7 separate regions of the Homo sapiens genome follow, and all the other regions are linked to region 5. The links are contacts of gene promoters, found by promoter capture Hi-C in blood cells and fetal thymus (Javierre and others, 2016). All regions are on one chromosome and are shown on one strand. Each heading gives the region's core, a stretch centred on a gene start or on the middle of the fragment in contact. The rest is flanking DNA. Distances are from core to core; before and after follow the strand shown. Region 1 overlaps PRKCH-AS1 (PRKCH antisense RNA 1). Region 2 overlaps SYT16 (synaptotagmin 16). Region 3 overlaps PRKCH (protein kinase C eta). Region 4 has its middle 11 kb from the start of SYT16. Region 5 holds the start of LINC03033 (long intergenic non-protein coding RNA 3033). Region 6 overlaps PRKCH (protein kinase C eta). Region 7 overlaps SNAPC1 (small nuclear RNA activating complex polypeptide 1).

Region 1 (2,799 bases), core at 175-2,674, 250 kb after region 5:
TGCCCCCGCCTCCGAAGGCTCACGCTCTCCCCCACTCGGCGAGCTTCAAACCAGGAAGCAGCTGCCGCCGCCGCATCCCCGGCGAGAACCTCGCACCGCCAGGTTCCAAGTTCACAGAACCCCCGCGTCCGCTCCCGCGCCTTCCGGACCCCAGGGGCGTGGCCCGCGGTCCGCGGCCCGGCCCTGCGGTGGGTGGATCCCCGCGCAAGCCCCCGGGAGGCCAGTGCCCGCTTGCGCCGCCCTGCGCGCCCTCCTTGTAGCGCTGGGTCTGGCCGTGCGCTGCGGGTTAGGGGCCACCCCGGGCGCAGGCCAAAAAGGAAAGGGTTCGTGGCCCAGCCCGAGCAAACACCTGAGGCGTGGTAGACTGACCTGGGGAGCGATGGAAGGTTGGGAGGACGCAGAGGAGGGCGCTCCAGCCAGGAACCCGCGCGGCGAGGAGTCGCCCGCCCCCTCTCTCCCAACCTCCCCGGTGGGCTGGTGACCCTGCAGGGCCATCCCCAAGAGGCCCTGGCCGGAGGCGGGGGCACGGCGGGGAGGTTCTTTTTCCTAATATTTACAGGGATGGCTCATCCCGGGGTCAGCTCGAACGCATCCTGTTTGTGCGCCTTTCCTGCAGAGGCTAATTACACAGTTGTGTGTATGTGTGTGTTTTAATAGGGCAGTAGTAATGATGGAAATCCTGTTCGCCTCCTTCCTCGGAAGGTGTGTCTTGTTGCACATAGAGCAGGAAAGGTCGGTTCTTCTGGAGACAGACATGGCCAAGAGGTAATAAGTCTCTTCCTCTGCGGGTGGTTTCTGGTCCACCCAGCTCTGCGCGGCAAGGGCAGAAAATGTTCACACACACAGGCTGTCCCCAACACACACGCGGAAGAAATTGCCTCTTCTAGGAACACTCCAGCTTGTTGTATTTGCAGTCAGAGTGGGCAGCCTTCTGATGCTTCCCACCCCGTGGTCCCTGCAGATTTTGTCTCCGGGGAGGACCTTTTAGCCTACGCTGCTATGCCGCAAAGCTTGCTCCCTGAGGGCCAGCCACAACCAATTTGTTCCCCAAAAAGCCTAGGCCACTTTTTGTTGTTGTTGTTGTTGTTGTTTTTGAGACGGAGTTTCGCTTTTGTTGCCCAGGCTGGAGTGCAATGGCGCCATCTCGGCTCACCGCAACCTCCGCCTCCCAGGTTCGAGCGATTCACCTGCCCCAGCCTCCCGAGTAGCTGGAATTACAGGCATGCGCCACCACGCCCGGCTAATTTTGTATTTTTAGTAGAGACAGGGTTTCTCCATGTTGGTCAGGCTGGTCTCAAACTCCCGACCTCAAGTGATTCGCCTGCCTCGGCCTCCCAAAGTGCTGAGATTACAGGCGTGAGCCACAGCACCCAGCCAAGCCTAGGCCACTCTTAAGATACTTGATTACATTCTGTCTTGCTATACTGGTTCCCTCGGAGCAGATTCGGCTTGCTTTCATTCCTTTCTTTCTTCCTTCCCTCCTTTCTTTCTTTTATGTTTTAGAGACTGGGTTTTGCTTTGTCATCCAGGCTGGAATACAGCGGTGTGATCATGGCTTACCATAACCTCCAGCTCCCAGGTTCAAGTGATCTTCCAGCCCCTGCCTCCTAAAGTGTTAAGATTACAGGCATGAGCCCCCGTGCCTGGCCCCAGGTTCATCTTTCTAGCCCCCACTCCTCTAAGGCCCTGTTCAGAACTTTCTAATTGAGTAGGTTCTCAACGATTTCACATGAGTGCAAGGAGGCCTGACCCGTAATAACAGCACTATACAGAATGAAAACAAGTAAGGACAATGGGCCAGGGGGGAAAGGGCCTGTCTTGAAAACACCAAAGCTTCCTTAGAGAACAAGGCAGGGATGCAACGCATCACTCTAATGACATCTTAGCTTTAGGCAGGGCTTGTAAAGCCTGCTCCCAAACGTCCAGGGGGCTCCTGTTTGGCCTTAGTGCTCCAGGGGAAGATGTCGCATCTACCCTGTGGGTCAGCTCTGTCACCCTTTCCTCCAAACAGCTGAACTCTAGCTTTAAGAGCCACTAAAGGATTTGCTCCTGTTGGACTTTGGGGCTAAAAGAAAACAGTCCCCATACAGAATCATGGGGTGTAGACTTTAAATTTTTTTTTAAATTTTAAAAAGAAAACAGTCCCCAAATGGTAGGTGGCCACACAGCTGTCCTGGGACTGGGATATGACGATACCAGACACTCCATCTTCACCCTATCAGTACCTATCAGGATTGGCAATGGTGACAGAGCAGTGGGTCAGACAGCCATGGTGCCTGCCCTCCTGGGGCTTACAGTCCCACAAGGAGGAAAAACAACTAATAGAAGAGGGTGCAGTGAAGGAAAAGCCCACGGTGCCAAGGGGTGATGTATTATAACTGGATGGGTGGTCAGGGAAGGGTTCCTTGAAAAAGCAAATAGCAGAGAGATCAGCTCATTGAGAGCTCCTGAGGAGACAGATGGGTTGGCCTGTTTGGGAACCAAAAGCACCCTACGTGGCTGGAGCTGAGGAAGGCGTGGCTGGAGCTGAGGAAGGTGAGGGGAGAGTGGCTGAAATGAGCTTGCAAAGGTGGTCACACTGACCAGACTGGTAGATCACAGGAAAGCCTTGGACATTATCTATGGGCCACTGGACGCCTCTGAAGGCTGTTAAGCAGAGCCAGGGTAAGATGAGGATTTGTGTTTTAAAATACCTCTCTGGGGACAGGCAAGGTGGCTCACACCTATAAACCCAACACTTTGGGAGGCTGAGGCAGGAGTACTGCTTGAGCCCAGGAGTTCAAGACCAGCCTTGGCAAC
Region 2 (2,774 bases), core at 145-2,644, 250 kb before region 5:
AGTCTTACATTTGTACACAGATCATTTGTTCTTAATTTTATATTCCTCACACACAAAAAATGGAATCAATGACTAGGCACCCTGTTTCTGAGTCAGATTGTTCTCATAATATGAGGTACACCCTATGGGGAGGTACACGCCATTGGAAGGATCTTGTAGCAGGTAAAGGGACAGACATTTATTAATGCATATGTTGTGCCAGCAACTCTGTTCCATCTCTTTTACTCCTTGTAATTCCTCAGAGTGGAATAAGACAAAGCCTCCGGGAAGTTAAACAATTTACCTCTTACCCAGCCTTTGAGTGGCAGGACCAGAGTTCACGACTCAGGCACCTCTGGAACCAGGCCTGTGCTCTCTTCCACCATACCACACTCAGTTCTTCAATCTTTTGCAATTTCTATTGAGCTAAGCCAATTGAAAACCTCCTTGTAATTGGTAGGTTATCTGTATGGTGCTCTTTTGAATTAAGTATATAAACCAGGGGCATTTTCATGCAGGGTGGGTAAAATCATTTTATGTCTCTTAATCTTTGCTCCATTGTGAGTAAAATTATAGAATGTGACTTATTATATTCCTAAAATTAGACGCCAGAAGAATATTATATTCTCACAATAAGAAAATTTTATTCTAAAGGGGTAATATCCATCCATAAATGTAAACTACCTAAAATCAGATATGTATAATCCTTAATGGAAGGATGACAGCTGTGCATAAAATTTTTTTTGTAATATGCACTTCAGATACCTCTCCAATCTACTAGAAAGCACTGTCAGTGAGTTTGATTATCATCTTAATATACAGACAATTGTTAAATGGCATAATAGCCATCTTATCATTCATAATGCTAAATAATAGTTAATGACTAAATAATACCCTAGTGATCTAAAAGGACAAATGTCATCCAAATCTACTATACTCAGGAGAAGGGAAGGTTTATTCCTCCCAAGATGTCTGTCCCATTTCTTTTATAAAACATATAGACCAAATTTTAGATTCATTTAGAAACTCAGGTTGGTCAAGAAAAAGCTTTACTGGGTTTACCAATTCAAAGATGCCATGGTGAAATGAAAACATAGGAATTCTATTCAAACAGTATGAAATTATTTATGCTGATTTACTCTTAGAATGTTTCAATAAGATAACATCAACTGGGTAAATCAGTTGAGAATATTGCCACCATAACCATATTTATGTTTTCTTCTAGAATTTAATTCTTGGTTTAAAAACAGGAGGAGCAGTTTAGCAAACAAAACAAGAACAAGCAGGTTCACAGACCTTTTCTTCTACACTGTTTATAATTACCCAGGCTTAGTCAGCTTTTCAAACTTAAAACAAGTGCACAGCCCATATATGTCAAATCAGTACATTCCTCAGAACTCTGCTATTCTATAACATTAATAATATCTAAATGCTGTTTTTTTTTTTTTTTTTTGAGACAGAGTCTCACTGTGTCTCCCAGGCTGGAGTGCGGTGAAGCAATCTCGGCTCACTGCAACCTCCGCCTCCCAGGTTCAAGCGATTCTCCTGCCTCAGCCTCCCAAGTAGCTGGGATTACAGATGAGTGCCACCACGCCCTGCTAATTTTTGTAATTTTAGTAGAGATGGGGTTTCACCATGTTGATCAGGCTGGTCTCAAACTCCTGACCTCATGATCCACCCGCCTCGGCCTCCCAAAGTGCTGGGATTACAGGCGTGAGCCACCGCGCCTGGCTGCTGTCATCTATTATTGCAGAATTGCTACTGAAGTCTGATAAAAGCTTGGGGATTATGAGGAGGGAAGTATGCACAGAGGGGCAGTGAAGCATCATGATGTCTTGGATTTGCCTTCAAAATGCCTCTCCCAGAAAAGTGGGGGTGGAGGTGGAGATGGATGCAACAAGCCTGGTGAAATACCAACGCTCATTAAAGCTATGTGACCTGGATACATGGGGGTTCACTATACTATTCTCTCTTCTTGTGTATATGAAATTTTCCCTAATAAAAAGTTTTGTTAACATTATCACTTCACAACAGAATTAGGAGTCCAACGTTATTTATTTCAAAAAGTAAACTCAATAGTATTAGACCATAAAGCCTAGAATACAGATTAATAGCTCAGTGCTTTCATTTATAAACTCCCTCCCCCAAATTCGCAGAAAAGCTGCAAGAACAGCACAAGGAACTCCTAAATTTACCAAATGCTAACCTTCGGCCACCTTTGCTTTCTCTCTCATATGATACACATATACATATAAATGCACACATACATGCATATATCCTTTTTTCCTAAAGCCTTTGACATTTAGGTACAGATATCATGTCCCATGTCAACCACAATAAAAATATCAAATTTAAGAAATTTAACACTGATACAATGCTATTATCCAATATACAAGCCATATTCAAATCTCACCAATTATCACAACACTGTCCTTTGTCGCATTTTTTCCCTCATCTAGGATATAACCTGAAATCATCCATTGCATTTAGTGGTCTCTTTAGTCTTCTTCAATCTGAACAGTGCCTCAGCCATCTTTCATGACACTGACTTACAGAATGTCTCTTGATTTGCCTTTGTCTGATGTTTCCTCGTGATCAGAACCAGGTTATACATTTGTGGCACAGTAAGTGGCATTGTGTCCTTCCCGGTGCTTCCTATCAGGAAGTACAGGATATCAGTTTGTCCCATTATTCTTTTTTTTTTTTTTTTTGGAGATGGAGTTTTGCTCTTGTTGCCCAGGCTGCAGTGCAATGGCGTGATCTCAGCTCACTGCAACCTCTACCTTCTGGGTTCA
Region 3 (2,701 bases), core at 84-2,583, 230 kb after region 5:
TCAGTCTCGCTTTTTCCCATTTTGAAATCCATCTCTTACCACCCAAACAAAAGTTAACATTTTGTTTGAGGAACCTAGGATTCAGCTAATCTTTTCACACACCTTTAATACTTATTTAAGTAATCAAGGGAATAAAAACCATACTGGTATATTCATTCTCTCTAAACTACTCCTGAGGCAGCTCTTAAACTCACACACACCAAAAAAAAGTAAATCTGTACCTGAATATGAATTTTTCAAGCGAAAACCTTTTAGCAAAAGTGTTTGAATCATGACTCAGACTCAAGACAGAGAATGGTAAGGAATGATAAGGAATTTTTCCTTTCTACAAACATTTCCTGAATCCCAAACATGTGCAGGGTACTTTACTAAGTGGTGGGGGAGGCTGGGGGTCCCTAATGTTCATGCAGATGGCAGTACTTCAGGGCTGAAAGCAGATCAGTGGCCAAGGTGAGGGCAGACACCCACAAACACATTCTCATTCACTCCAGACATTTGCAACAGCAGCGCCCCAGCAAATCAATACAACCACAACCCAGGTACAGGATGTGCATGACAAGAAGGCGAGGAGGCCCGGCAAGGAGACTCAAAAACAATATATTCTTGGCACAACCAAAGAGCTAACAAAGGCTTCTGAACAACCAAAACCAAGGCTACGCTAAACATCAAGTGCAAACACTGTTGTGCCGTACTATGAAGCAAAGGAAATTACTGTTCTGAAATATTGTATATATACAGTTCAGAAACCTTTCACTTAAAATCAACTGTGAAAGATCTAGGTCCCAGAACAAGTGTCCAGTAAACAAATAAAAGTAGAAATGATCACCTTCAAATGAGTCCCCAGGTGGGGCATGGTGGCTCATGCCTGTAATCCCAGCACTTTGGGAGGCCATGAAGGGTGGCATCACTCGAAGTCAGGAATTAGAGAGCAGCCTGGGCAACATAGTGAGACCCTACCTCTATAAGAAAAAAGGTTTTCTAATTAGCCAACCACGGTGGTGCACGACTGTAGTCCCAGCTACTCAGGTGGCTGAGGCAAGAGGATCAGTTGAGCCCAGGAGGTCAAGGTTACAGTGAGTTAAGATTGTATGTACCACTGCACTCCAGACTGGGCAACAGAGTAAGATCCTATCTCTGTAAAATAAAATTTTTTGTTTAATTGAGTCCACATAGGAAAAAAAGTACTTCATATTTTCTGCAAGCCAAATCAAATGTTCAGCCTAAGCAACATGGCAAGACCCTGTCTCTACATTAAAAAATTAGCTGAGCTTGGTGGCGCACGCCTATGGTCCCAGTTACTCAGAAGACTGAGGCAGGAGGATCACTTGAGCCCAGGAGGTTGAGACTGCAGTGAGTCATGTTCACACCACTACATTCCAGCCTGGGGGACACAGTGAGACCCTGTCTCAAAAAAAAAAAAAAAAAAAAATTGTTGGTGTCCTTGAATACATCTATAAATCCATATTCAAACGATGTACTTTTTTTTTTTTTTTTTTTTTTTTGAGACAGACTGTCACTTCGTAACCCAGGCTGGAGTCCACAATCTCGACTCACTGCAACCTCCACCTCGCCTCCTGGGTTCAAGCAATTCTCATGCCTCAGCCTCCCAAGTAGCTGGAATTACAGGTGCGTACCACCAAGCCCAGCTAATTTTTGTATTTTTAGTAGAGACAGAGTTTCACCATGCTGGCTAGGTTGGTCTCGAACTCCAGACCTCAAGCAATCTGCCCACCTCAGCCCCCCATAGTGCTGGAATTACAGGCATGAGCCACCACACCTGGCCCTAATGACGTACTTTTAAAACTAGAGTTTTCCTCCTTGAAAGCATGACAGAACAATTCACATCCACCAACTTGTATTGGATATTCAAACTAACCAAGGAAAATATATTTTAATGCCAATTGAAAGAGCCTGTTTACCATTATTTCCCTTAATTACAGCAATAAAAGTACTCACTTCAGCTTTTCAAAGGCCTCTTTCTGTCCTTTGCAGCTAAATATTGCAACTTGATTTATTTCTGGTTTGTTGGTTCTCACTAACTCAGACCCTCTGCTGTCCAATATTGAATAAGCAAACCAACAAACTTAATTTCAAGGTTTCCATGAACCAACTTTAGCCAACATTGTAACTATAATAATTCCAGCTTCATTTTCCCATATTCCTTACAAGAACTTCCAGAGAGGACCTATGTACAGAATTTACCCCCAATCCCTGTGATTCCGGGATAAGGAAGCCATCTTCTCTTCCACCAGTAACTAGAAATCTCCTACTGATTTACATTCCAGAATCCTACATTAAAAGCAAAACCAGTGAGGAAGTTGTACTCAAAAATCCCTTCTCTTGAATTCTATGTAAATAAATATCTTACTGCTTTCAAAGTTAACTTCAGAAAAGGGCTGGGCCCATCACTTCATATTGAAGTGCTGAGGGTAGAGTGGTGGTAATGAAAGTGACATCAACAATCATTTTTCTGCGGTAGTATATGTCATGCCCTGTGTAGATGGTTTACATAAGTCCTCACTGTGTTCTGAAGTAACCCTGTGAGGCAGGTACTGTGTTGTGGATGAGAGAACAGGCTTGCAGGGGTTAAATTATCCCTGCTAATGAGAGGCAGAATGAATAGCTGAACCCCAATCTGGCTGACACCCAACCATCACACTATGATGCACTGATAATTATGGTAGTTGTCCAATAAATACTC
Region 4 (2,700 bases), core at 156-2,655, 230 kb before region 5:
CTATTTAAAACATGTAATAAAGGCAGAAGAGTTAACCATTTGTGAGACTTTAGCAAAATTCATTTCATTTAAAATCAGACACACCATAAGAAGTTCAGGTCCAACAAATCTTGTGGGTGTTGCCTTCCCTAAAAGTGATCAACTAGCTAGGCAGAATGGCTGGCACCTGTAGGCCCAGCTATTTGGGAGGCTAAGACAAGAGGATCTCTTGAGCCCAGGAGTTCGAGACCAGCCTGGTGGATATTATGAGGTCTCATTGCAAATAAATAAATAAATAAATGTTGTCAACTGAAGCTAACATAGCCCATTTAATTGTTACGGTGTTGAAGTATTTAAAAATTAGCCTGCAGGTAAAGTAATTACATGAAGGTTTTCTTTTTTATTTGTCTTAAGTAAGGTTTTTTAAAACCTCATATTAAAGTGCCTGCAAGAAAAAAATAGTGCATATAAAAATATTTTCCTCAGAGCATAATCTGTAATTAGCCTGATCAAGCTTTGTAGCTTGCAACCAAGAGCAAATTAATAACATAATTGATTCTATAGTGCTTAGCATTTACGGAAGATTAGCCTCCTTGAAAAATCAGGGATTTTTACCCTATTTTCAGAAGTGCGTCAATTTATTTCAAGCCATTAGGTTAACAAGACACTAAATTATGATCAAATAGCATTTGGGTGACTTAAATGAGTTAAGTCATACTCCCAATCTAATTGGAATCTTCGTAAATTAGGAGACACCCTGCACAAATCCAGGGAAGATGGTTCAGTAACTTCAGGGTAAATAGGGGGATGTCACCTAATGATTACTTTCCGTGATAGCAACTGTAAGGGATTCAATGCTGTAAAGGAGATATGCATGTTTATACAACTTTACCTGAGTGCACTCCCCTGTCCATGGCACTGGGCAGGTAGGACTCAGGCAGAATGTCATAGTCTTACCTATCTGAGGAGTCAGAGAATGGAGTTTGGGCTGTCAGAGTGGTTAGAAGTCAAGATGGGAAATCCCTAAAAGGAGCAATCATAGAAACTCCAAAATCTGTGTATAAAATCCCCTCAGATCTTTGGCTGCAAGCAAGGCAAAAACCCCCATGATTCTAGGGCAAAGAGCTAGAAATCTGAAAGTCCCGAGTGGGTATTTCAGCAGCTGACCACCCAAAGGTCTCCTGAGTTCAAAGTTCAAGTCTTGCAAGAATAGAGTGATGTGGCAAACACTTCACGGTTTCCATTAAACTTCAAAAAGCCCACACCTTAGATTTAGGGACCACTTCCAGGACTAAGGGATTTGCCCTAAAACTAAGGATCAAGCTGAATAGATCCACCCTGACAAAGCCTACAATCAAGCCCCTTTAAGTATAAGATGCTCTGTCATAACTTAACTGCCTTATAGAACAAAACTCAACACTCTTTAGAGGAAGGTGATAGAATTCAGAGTCCCTAACATGTATTATCATACAATAAAATATTAGTAGACAGGGAAAGAAACATGAAAATGTAAACCACAGTCAATAAAAAAATAAATCGGTCAATAAAAACAGATATACTCTTTGGGGGAAACAGACATACTGATGCCCCCAATGTTGAAACTAGCAAACACTTCAAGGTAGCTAAATTTGCTAAACTTATAGCACCTACAGTATAAATTTATAGTATCTATAAAATAGTATAAACCTACAGCAAAAAATGTTATAATTGGTGAAGAAATGGGACATTTCAGTGCAGATATGAAAACCATGAAGAAGAACCAAGGAGAAATGTTAGAACTGAAAAATACTACATCTAAAATTAAAGTTATTGAATGGGATTAACAGCAGATTGAATACAAAAGAAGAAATAATTCATGAACTTGAAGACAAGTCAAATCATTCAATCTGAAGCACGGAGAGAAAAATTACTGGGGGTGTGGGAGGAAGCCACAATAACATTTGGGACAGTATTAAGCAGTTAACAGACATGTAATTGGAGTCCTAGAAAGAGAAGCAAGTGAGACCAGTACAGAAAAACATATACAATATACTGGAAAAATTAACTGCACTAGGCACATCATGCAAATGGCTGAAAATAAAGTAAAAAAAAAAAAAAAAAAAAACTTAAAAGTGGCCAGAGAAAAAGGGCGTGTTATATACCAAAAAATGGGTAAGAATGAAAACTTCTCATCAGAAACAATGAAGGCTGAAGACATGCAACAATCCTTAACGTGATGAAAGAAAAGAGGTGTCTACCTAGAATTCAAATCCAGGAAAAATATCCTTCAAAAATGGTTAAATAAAGACTCAGAAAAACAAAATCTGATAGAATTGATCTCCAACAGAACTAAGCTTCAATAAATTAAAAGAATGTCTCCAGGCTGAGGGAAAATTGTCCCAGGTGAAAGCATAGATTTGCATGAAGGAATGAAGAGCAGTGGATAAGGTTCCCATGTGGGTAAATGTAACAGCTTTTTCTCCTATTTTTTCCTTTATTTAAAGTAAGAATATAACTGTATGATGGGGTTTATATCATAGCAGTAAAATATGATGACAATATCTCAAAGGATGGAAGAGGATAAAATGGGATATATCCATCCCTAACTTACAGGTAGATTTTATTACGTCTCATATGCAGATTGTAATCTCAGAGCAAATCCACGCTGTCTGATACTCTTCCACTGTGCAATGCTGCATCAACTGAACTTTTTTTTTTCTTTTCTCTTTTTTTTTTTGAGAT
Region 5 (2,733 bases), core at 58-2,557:
AAGAATAAAACAACTGGAGAAGAAATCCAGGATTACACAAAAAGAAGAGCGTGATGGTATGGTAGACTACTCCAGAACAGTGAATTTCCCCTGCATTAAGGATGAGATCCCTATGAATTGGGATCATTCAGGAAGTCTTCTTGGAGAAGAAAAGTTTGAGCATATGGGGAAAAAAAGTTGGATTGGCAAAGAGCTGAGCTGTCAGTAGCTGGGTCCTTAGTAAGTAGGCTGCATGGAGCTGGGAGTTATGCTAAAGGAGTTGTAATTTGGGATGCCTCTAATTAACCATTTTGGGAAAAATATAATAAATCCCTTTGTAGCATCTATAATAAACTGCCCAATATCTATGTGGTGGGGAAAAAGTTTTATTCTACGTTTCACGTGGATGGTGATAACACTAGGTAATCTCAGCATCTTTCTTATTCTCTTGCTAATCCAGGATTCTAAGTAATAATCACTTTGTTCTACAACCTGAATCTAGCCCTTGTACTGTGCAGTTTTTTTCTACACTTATTTTTCCTGTTGTCTGAATCAATCTCCATGGAAGCATAAGTTTTACTGAGTTTCAACCAGCTGTGTCCACCGAGGTAAAGATGGTAAAAATAAAAGGCACAGGGCATATATACCACAGCAGCAGTTACTTCCCACAAGGAACCAGAGATTGGAAGTGAAGCTAAAACATTTTCAGCTACGATAGCATCTCTTTCAAGGTGAGCCATTTCCCCAGGGAGAGTTTCCAGCTCTTAGCAAAGGCAGAACAATAAAACATCAAGGATGTCTTTCTAAGGCTGCAAACAGAATAGCCAATACCTTGAAGCTGATCTGCTTCAGAGTCCTTTAAAAGCCAGGACAGCAACAAAGTGCCCACATTACATTTTCTACAAGCTTGCTAAGCATCTCTTTTCCTAAACCACAAAACCCGAGACATTTCTACAGAACAGGCAGAAAGGGAAGTCCTGGGAGATCAGGGCCCTGTCTCAGCAGGCATCACTCCAGCCTGTCTTTTCCCGAGTGGTTTTCTGCACTTCTCTTCCATCTTTTCCCCTCTGTCCCACACTGGAAGTCACTAGTCTGTGCCCTCCTTACCTCCCATGGTTTCTGCACCTTCATTTCCAAAGGCAAGTGAAAACAGTGCCAGGCTGCGCACATGGGTTACTCCAGGGACTTCTCTTCCCGTTTCCCCTAAAGCATTTGACAGTTAGATCTTGGAACTGAGTCCAGCAGCACTGAGGTCAGAGAGATGGCTAAAGCTAAAAGCAAACTGGATGCTGTTCAGGAGGTTCTCCTTTGTCATTTTTATCTCCAAATAGAAGACCTCTGTTTTCCCAGAAGATTAAATAGTAGAAAAGAAGTAGCCCAAGGTGGGTGACTCTGCAAACAGGTGGGTGAGGTCTCTAGTTGAGTGAGGGGGTGTCTGTGGGTTGTGGGTTCTTCTTATGAGCAGAGCTTGGAGGAATTTGTTCTATTTGTTGTGGTTTTCCCAGGGGGAAGTCGGGGGTGGCTGGGACTCTAATGATCATTATCAGAAGACTTTGGATTAGGCCTCTGAAACTTTAAGATGTGGATCCTCTCGCAATCATGTTAAAATGCAGATCTCCTTTCAATAGGTCTGGGACAGAGCCTGGCTTTTCTATAAAGCTTCTGGTGATGGGATGTCGCTGGTTCTCAGCCACAATTTGAGTAGCAAGAGGTTAGCTTTTCTACTTACTGCCTTCATATCCCCAGTTGGGCTATGTCGTTTTATCAAAACAATGTGGTAAGAGTGAGCGCCAATTACTAGCCTGTTGAATCATCCATTGTTAGAGCTGTTTCTTTGAGGTACATTTAAGAGGCCCCTCCCTGTGGTTCCCCATTGCACAAGAAGCCCATTTGCCAGGCAATACCTTGGGCAAGCAAGCCACTGTGCAAAATTGCATTGGCTCTTCCTGCTGCCAGCCAGGCGGCTGCTGGTTGACGTTGGAGTTGTACAGTTTATGTGATAGTGATGACAGCGCTGGCTCTGAAGGGTACTGAAGATTTTGAAGGGGTACTTCGCTGCAGCAGCTTCACCTCTCACTTTTGTTTACCCACCCCCGAGGCTTGTGGGAGAGAAGGATCAGGCAGAGCTCTGCACGTGCCATGCCAGGGGTGGAGGAATTATATTTTTATTTTTTGCTTTCTCTGCTACAGGACATACCATGCCTTTTACAGATATTTATAGGACAATTTCCCTCCTGAGAGTGCCCAAGCATGGGGGATGGTGAGGAAGATGACTGAAGGAGAAAGCAGGAAAAGGGGGTGTCTGCATGTATGAGGATTGGAAGGTGGGGAAAACCCTTCGTGTTTGGTTCAGCCTTCAAGAAAGAGGAGGGGTTGACTAGATTACAGATGTTAAACCAGGGGTCTGTGGTTCAAACCAGCAACTCTCTGCCCTTGTAAGCTGTATCTGGCTGGTGTGTTAATTTGTCTAGGGTAAGAGCCCCTAGGTTTCAACAGATTGTCCTAGAGTCAATGATACACAAAAGGTTAATCAGCCTCATTTCCAATCAGGATCATCTGCAAGTCCCTCCCAGAGCAGATATTTGGAGCACTAGGCTTCTAGAAGCAGCAGACATCAAGTTCGGGCCATGGGATTAGGGTGGACAGGGCAGCCACTTGGAATCATTTTCTACCAGAGGCAGAAGAGGCTCAGCTAGCAACAGCCCCATTTTACAGAGCAGAAGCCGAGCTGCAGTCAATTCAGTGATTCCTCCT
Region 6 (3,027 bases), core at 172-2,671, 200 kb after region 5:
TCGGAGTTGAAAACATTAGCATGAACTCATGTTCAACTTAATATAGATACAGATGGATACATATAGAAATATTTACAGATATGTGTATATACAAGGGTGAGTATACACCTATTTCTCTGTTCCGTCAGCTGAACAGACCTAAAAGCAATGACACCTCAGTAGCAACAAGGACACGCAGTGCCCAGAACTTGGTTTCTAAAACCATTCTCCAACAAAAGGAACCAGGGTCCCTGGAGAAATAACTGATTCTAGGGATGGGGCAAAGAATATACAAAGTGAGCCAGGGGCATCTTTTAGTGCCAGAAAGAATAAGGATGTGATTTTAAAAAGCACACATGCAACAACAAAAACCCACCAGGATGGGTGGCATGTCACAAAGGGACACAGGAGCCTATTGAAACAGCTCCCAAAAACCAAATCTGAAACAATTTGAGGAGCACAATCATGTGATATTAGATTATAACCTAAAATATAAAATATGCATGAGTCCATACTGATACAAATAAATGATAGAATAAATAAATGGGGGAGAATAGACAAATCTCCCAAGCAGAGGAATTCCCAATAATTTCTCTAAATACTACCTCCCTCAGGGAGGTAGAGCATAATTCTCCACAACTAAAGTGTGAGCTATGTACAGTGACTTCCTTCCCAAGAGTACAGTATGGAAAGAAGGGGAAGAGGAACTTTATGTGAGAAATCTGACAAACATAATTTTAGCCATGCAATCAAGGTTCACATCAACAGTGATAGGTCGTTTTGATAGCATGTATGCATGTAAAAGCTAATTATGCAATTGATATGACATGATGGAATGAAATGTGGTACTATGCCTGCCTGTGTGGTCTTCCTCCCAAAACCCTTGAACCACAGGAAAAACATTAGACAAACCCAATTTGAAGGACATTCTATAAAATACCTGACGAGGACTTGTCAAGCTGTCAAGCTCACCAAAACCAAGGAAAGTCTGAGAAACTGTCACAGACTAGAAGAACCTAAGCAGACATATAAACATGATGTGGTATCTTGAATGGGATCCTAACACAGAAATGGAACAGTAGGTAAAATCTAAGGAAATCTGATAAACTATGAAGTTTAATTAGTAATAATGTATCATTATTGATTCATTAGCTGTGACAATGTAGCATACTAACCTAAGACATTAATAATACAGAAAACTGACTGTTGGGTATATGGGAATTCTCTGCACTATCTTCACAGTTTCTCTGTAATACTAAAACTGTTCTAAAATGTTTATTCAAGAAAATGCTTTTAAATAAAAACTGCCTTCACTGAGCCCTAAATCCAGGTAACTCTTAAAGAAATTAAATTCTAAATTAGTAACTGATTACTACAGGTGATAAATTTGGTTATTCACTAAATAGATGAAAAGAGAGCCAGAGGCAGCAGTGCAAAAGAATATCTGGCCTTTCTAGACTGTGTATGTAACATTCCCATGTTAACGTTAAGTCATCCCCTGTCCCAACTGTCTCCAGCTGGCCAGTGTCACAGCACATCCCATTTTGCGCTAGTTTCCATACTGCAGTGTTTGGTGTTATCCACACCCCTGGAGAAGACCCACAGTGAGAACCCCAAGAGTTTTCTATGAGTACTCCTATCTGCAAATTGTTTTCAGACAAGCTGTTGGTAAAGTATCTTCTCTTCAACTAAAAACAGAAGTAGAAGACAGAAATACAGAGAGCGAAGAAAGAGAAAAAAATCAGCTACAAACTACTTCCAATGAACATCTAACATAATGAGTACTTTCTGGAGCTAAGACTGACTAATATGAATGATATTGTGCCCATTACACTCTGATTTCAGGAAAAGTTGCAGAAAATCTGAACAGGAACTCCTCATCCAAAAATGGATACAAAGATTTGGAGCAGGTTTAATACAGATTGGGCCTTTCATTTTTCTACCCAGTGCTAAACCTCTCCCACCTCTCGTGGGTCAGAATTTCCTGATACACTTATTACAAATGCAGGCCCCACCCCCAGGCCTAGCAAACTGGCATCGCACTTAACAAACTCCAGGTGACTCCAGTAAAGTTGGGCAACCACTGTAGTTTGCCTTCACTGTTCTCATCACCACCTCATCCCTTCGCTTTTTCTCCAACAACCAAAGAAAGTATATTGTTTATGTATTAGGGTTCTCAGTTTTTAAAAGAACACACATGGCCGGGTGCGGTGGCTCACGCCTGTAATCCCAACGCTTTGGGAGGCCGAGGCAGGCGGATCACTTGAGGTCAGGAGTTCGAGGCAGCCTGAGCAACATGGTGAAACCTTGTCTCTACTAAAAATACAAAAATTAGCCAGGTGTGGTGATGGGCGCCTGTAATCCCAATTACTTGGGAGGCTGAGACAGGAGAATCGCTTGAACCTGGGAGGCGGAGATCACGCCACTGCACTCCAACCTGGGTGACAGAGCAAGACTCTGTCTCAAAAAGAAATAAAAATAAAAATAAAAAACCATACATACACACATATATATACACATATAAACATACAGATATATGCATATGTATTACTGCTTGTAGATACTATCTATGCATCAATAGTTTAAAAATAAAGTTCTGTTTTTTACCAAGAACTTTCTGTCACTTTCTTCCCAATTTTTTCTTTCCAATCCTTTGGTTAGTTGCTATTAATAATATAATTCTTCTGGGGAATCTACTCCCATAACTAATGCATTAAACAGTCAAAACATGTAATACTTTAGAGTTGATTCGAAAGACAAATGTCCAAGAAAAGAACACTGACTGCAATCATATTTCTCAATATATACTACATTCCACAAAACAGTCAGTATACAGGAACTTATATTGTGTAAACATGTAAAATCAGAATGGGGAAAATGAAATAGGAAATCAAGGCTGGGAAAAGTTAAGATGTAACTGTTAAAATTTTCTTAAAGTTGAGCTACAAATTTGAATCTGAATTTCTGACGCGAAGCAAAGCAAACAAAAAGAAAACCAGGTTCACAAACAAGGTTCACGATAAACCCTAATGAAACCACACCAATTTC
Region 7 (3,105 bases), core at 100-2,599, 200 kb before region 5:
CCCAACATTATCATCCACGGATAAACATTCGTGTAAAATACAATGGTGAGGCACCAAACAAGTGATTGCATACCTTTCTGTCTTTGTGCCACTGCTGATGCTCCAAAACTATGTTCTTAATATTGTCAAAAAAATCATCCTTTATCAAGCTGAGGGCTTTATCTGGCTTGGACTTATCAACTGAAATTACATGTTTCATGTTCTGATAATGATCATGAACATTCAGCATTTCCTAAAAGCAAAAAGATGAGTCCTTTATTTCTTCACTTTTTGAGGAGAAACTAAAAGGCAAAACCAACACAAAATAGTCACCTTCCAAAGTGACTTCCAGTTGATAGGTAATAACATGCTATAGTATATTAAAAATAACATAATCATGTAAGCAAAATAGTACAACTTCATTAACATAGAGGTGTGGATTCCAGAGGTATGGATTTACTGACTTACCTCAACAAACATTAACTAAGATATAAGATACACTTATGGGGAAGACATTGGGGAAAGACAAATCAGTTAACATAAAATTCCATTCTAGAATATCACAATTATTTGTAGCATGACATATCATTAAATATCACTACTGATAACTAAGATATTTTTATATCATATTGTCACATCAAGAATATTTACATAGTCCTTTATGCTCTGCTGGAAATTCCTATGTAACGACTCTCATCCAACCTGCCACAGAAATCCCAAAACGTATGTGCCTGTTCCCATAAGCTTCCCCATTGCTTCAGCGATAACATTCAGGATTAAAGATATAGAGGGTAGGCCAGGTGTGGTGGCTCACACCTATAATCCCAGCACTTTGGGAGGCCAAGGTGGGAGAATCACCAGATCAGGAGTTCAAGACCAGACTGGCCAACATGGTGAAACCCCGTCTCTACTAAAAATACAAAAATTAGCCGGGTATGGGGGTGGGCGCCTGTAATCCCAGCTACCTGGGAGGCTGAGGTAGGAGAATTGCTTGAACCCGGGAGGCGGAGGTTGCAGTGAGCCAAGATTGAACCACCACCGCACTCCAGCAGGGGTAACAGAGCAAGACTCCATCTCAAGAAAAAAAAAAAAGAAAGAAATAGAGGGTGATTTATGACACCATTTGTGGCATTATTTATTAGATCTTCTTCCTCCAAAAATCTCCAGCCAAATGGGCAGATCTGTGGGGTAAGGAAAAAGACAGCATACCACAGAGTGGACTTAAGAAAACCTGGCATAGGGACTTGGCTCTAAGATCAAGAGAGAACTACTGACACTTCCATCACAGATGGACATTGCAACATCTGAGTCATCCCTAACTCAGACCACTCAATTCATTTCCAGATTTTGGTAGAATCAACACCTGTTCAAGAAATGAGAAACTAGGCCAGGCACAGTGGCTGACTCCTGTAATCCCAGCACTCTTGGAGGCCAAGGTGGGCAGATCACCTGAGGTCTGGAGTTCGAGACCAGCCAGACCAACATGGAGAAACCCCGTCTCTACTAAAAATACAAAGTTAGCCGGGTGTGGTGGCACATGCTTGTAATCCCAGCTACTCGGGAGGCTGAGGCAGGAGAATCACTGGAACCTGGGAGGCAGAGGTTGCGGTAAGCCAGGATCGCACCATTGCACTCCAGCCTGCGCAACAAGAGTGAAACTCTGCCTCTCAAAAAAAAAAAAAAAAAAAAAAAAAAAAAATGAGAAACTGATCAATAGTGGTGAGTGAGTGCTCATATATGCAGGATCTGCAATGGGAGAACAGTGTCCAGACATGGAGAGCCCCTAACTCTTTACAGTTTACATTGGCTATACTCTCATTATTTTTACTTCATGTGATAGAGAAAGACCACCAGTCAGATCTAATTTTTGAGTCTGAGCTCTGTCATTTGCTCAATGGATGACAATGGGGAAGTCCCTCAACCTAAGAATCATGTTCATGTTTCGCATTTGTACAAAATGAACAAACCCACCATTGTTAAGTATTAAACAAGCTTATACAGGTGAAAGTATTCAGTAGAATGTAAAGCACTATAGAAGATTAAAGAAGCCAGGCACAGTAGTGTGCACCTGTAGTCCCAGCTACTCAGAAGCCTGAGGCATGAGGATGGCTTGAGCCCAGGAATTCAAGGCCAACTCAGGCAACACAGCAAGACCCCCACCTTTAAAAAAAAAAAAAAAAAAGAAGAAGAAAATTAAATAAGAAATAAAAGACAGTGCATGGACTTTGGAGCCTTATAGACTTGGACATTCAAACATAGTGTCTGTACCTTATTGTGCCTCACCTTATACAAACTACTTAACTTCTCTAAACCTCAGTTTCCTTATTTTTAAAACTGGGGGCCGTGCACGATGGCTCATGCCTGTAATCCCAGCACTTTGGAAGGCCGAGGTAGGCGGATCACCTGAGGTCAGGAGTTCGAGACCACCCTGGCCAACATGGTGAAACCCCATTTCTACTAAAAATACAAAAAATTAGCCAGGCATGGTGGCGGGTGCCTGTTGTCCGAGCTACTCGGGAGGCGGAGGAAGGAGAATCGCTTGAACCTGGGAGGTGGGGAGGTGGAGGCTGCAGTGAGCCGAGATCGTGCCACTGCATTCCAGCCTGGGCAATAAAAGGGAAACTCTGCCTTAAAAAATAAAAAAAAAAAAAAGGCCAGGCATGGTGGCCCGCGCCTGCAATCCCAGCACTTTGGGAGGCCGAGGCGGGCGGATCATGAGGTCAGGAGATCAAGACCATCCTGACTAACACGGTGAAACCTTGTCTCTACTAAAAAAATACAAAAAATTAGCTGGGCATGGTGGCAGGCGCCTGTGGTCCCATCTACTCAGCAGGCCGAGGCAGGAGAATGGCATGAACCCAGGAAGCAGAGCTTGCAGTGAGCCAAGATCGCACTCCAGCCTGGGCGACAGAGGGAGACTCCATCTCAAAAAAAAAAAAAAAAAAAAAAACTAAGGAAATACCACCTTCTCTGCAGGGTTACTATGATAATTAGTGAGATAACATACATAAAACATCTAGCATAGTTCCAGGTATATGGTGAGTACTCAGCACACGATGTCCATTATTATAACTGTATAAATGAAGAAACAGAAATGAAATAATTTGCTCAAGGTCCTACTTACAT

The links. The method cuts DNA at HindIII sites, captures the fragments that hold promoters and counts their contacts. A CHiCAGO score of 5 or more calls a contact.
Region 1: a contact is called between a fragment that was not itself captured here and the fragment with the promoter of LINC03033 in region 5, in 1 of 17 cell types (activated CD4 T cells). The highest score is 8.9, in activated CD4 T cells.
Region 2: a fragment that was not itself captured here is called in contact with the fragment with the promoter of LINC03033 in region 5 in 3 of 17 cell types (neutrophils, activated CD4 T cells and non-activated CD4 T cells); the score reaches 11.6 in neutrophils.
Region 3: a contact is called between a fragment that was not itself captured here and the fragment with the promoter of LINC03033 in region 5, in 1 of 17 cell types (activated CD4 T cells). The highest score is 8.1, in activated CD4 T cells.
Region 4: a contact is called between a fragment that was not itself captured here and the fragment with the promoter of LINC03033 in region 5, in 9 of 17 cell types (neutrophils, activated CD4 T cells, non-activated CD4 T cells and 6 more). The highest score is 14.2, in neutrophils.
Region 6: a fragment that was not itself captured here is called in contact with the fragment with the promoter of LINC03033 in region 5 in 1 of 17 cell types (activated CD4 T cells); the score reaches 6.6 in activated CD4 T cells.
Region 7: a contact is called between a fragment that was not itself captured here and the fragment with the promoter of LINC03033 in region 5, in 10 of 17 cell types (neutrophils, activated CD4 T cells, total B cells and 7 more). The highest score is 17.9, in neutrophils.

What each region holds. Positions count from the first base shown.
Region 1 is chr14:61,318,895-61,321,693 of GRCh38, reverse strand. All of the region lies in intron 1 of PRKCH-AS1 (PRKCH antisense RNA 1), which reads left to right. PRKCH (protein kinase C eta) reads right to left here and starts at 115. Exons shown (of 14, transcript NM_006255.5): 1 at 1-115. RefSeq lists a silencer at 53-322. The HindIII fragment of the contact is 823 bases long and covers 1,013-1,835 here.
Region 2 is chr14:61,817,336-61,820,109 of GRCh38, reverse strand. All of the region lies in intron 1 of SYT16 (synaptotagmin 16), which reads right to left. Among named protein-coding and RNA genes, the nearest start is that of SYT16, 6.0 kb to the right of the region's middle. The HindIII fragment of the contact is 731 bases long and covers 1,029-1,759 here.
Region 3 is chr14:61,335,869-61,338,569 of GRCh38, reverse strand. All of the region lies in intron 1 of PRKCH (protein kinase C eta), which reads right to left. Among named protein-coding and RNA genes, the nearest start is that of PRKCH-AS1, 14 kb to the right of the region's middle. The HindIII fragment of the contact is 4,334 bases long and covers 1-2,701 here.
Region 4 is chr14:61,800,690-61,803,389 of GRCh38, reverse strand. No RefSeq gene overlaps it. Among named protein-coding and RNA genes, the nearest start is that of SYT16, 11 kb to the left of the region's middle. The HindIII fragment of the contact is 1,819 bases long and covers 496-2,314 here.
Region 5 is chr14:61,569,114-61,571,846 of GRCh38, reverse strand. It overlaps LINC03033 (long intergenic non-protein coding RNA 3033), which reads right to left and starts at 1,307. Exons shown (of 3, transcript NR_039985.1): 1 at 1,087-1,307. LINC01303 (long intergenic non-protein coding RNA 1303) reads left to right here and starts at 1,194. Exons shown (of 5, transcript NR_110416.1): 1 at 1,194-1,361; 2 at 2,170-2,303. RefSeq lists a silencer at 2,017-2,209 and an enhancer at 2,601-2,733. The HindIII fragment of the contact is 753 bases long and covers 888-1,640 here.
Region 6 is chr14:61,369,394-61,372,420 of GRCh38, reverse strand. All of the region lies in intron 1 of PRKCH (protein kinase C eta), which reads right to left. Among named protein-coding and RNA genes, the nearest start is that of PRKCH-AS1, 48 kb to the right of the region's middle. The HindIII fragment of the contact is 8,632 bases long and covers 1-3,027 here.
Region 7 is chr14:61,773,222-61,776,326 of GRCh38, reverse strand. It overlaps SNAPC1 (small nuclear RNA activating complex polypeptide 1), which reads right to left. Exons shown (of 10, transcript NM_003082.4): 5 at 74-232. Among named protein-coding and RNA genes, the nearest start is that of SNAPC1, 12 kb to the right of the region's middle. The HindIII fragment of the contact is 1,248 bases long and covers 726-1,973 here.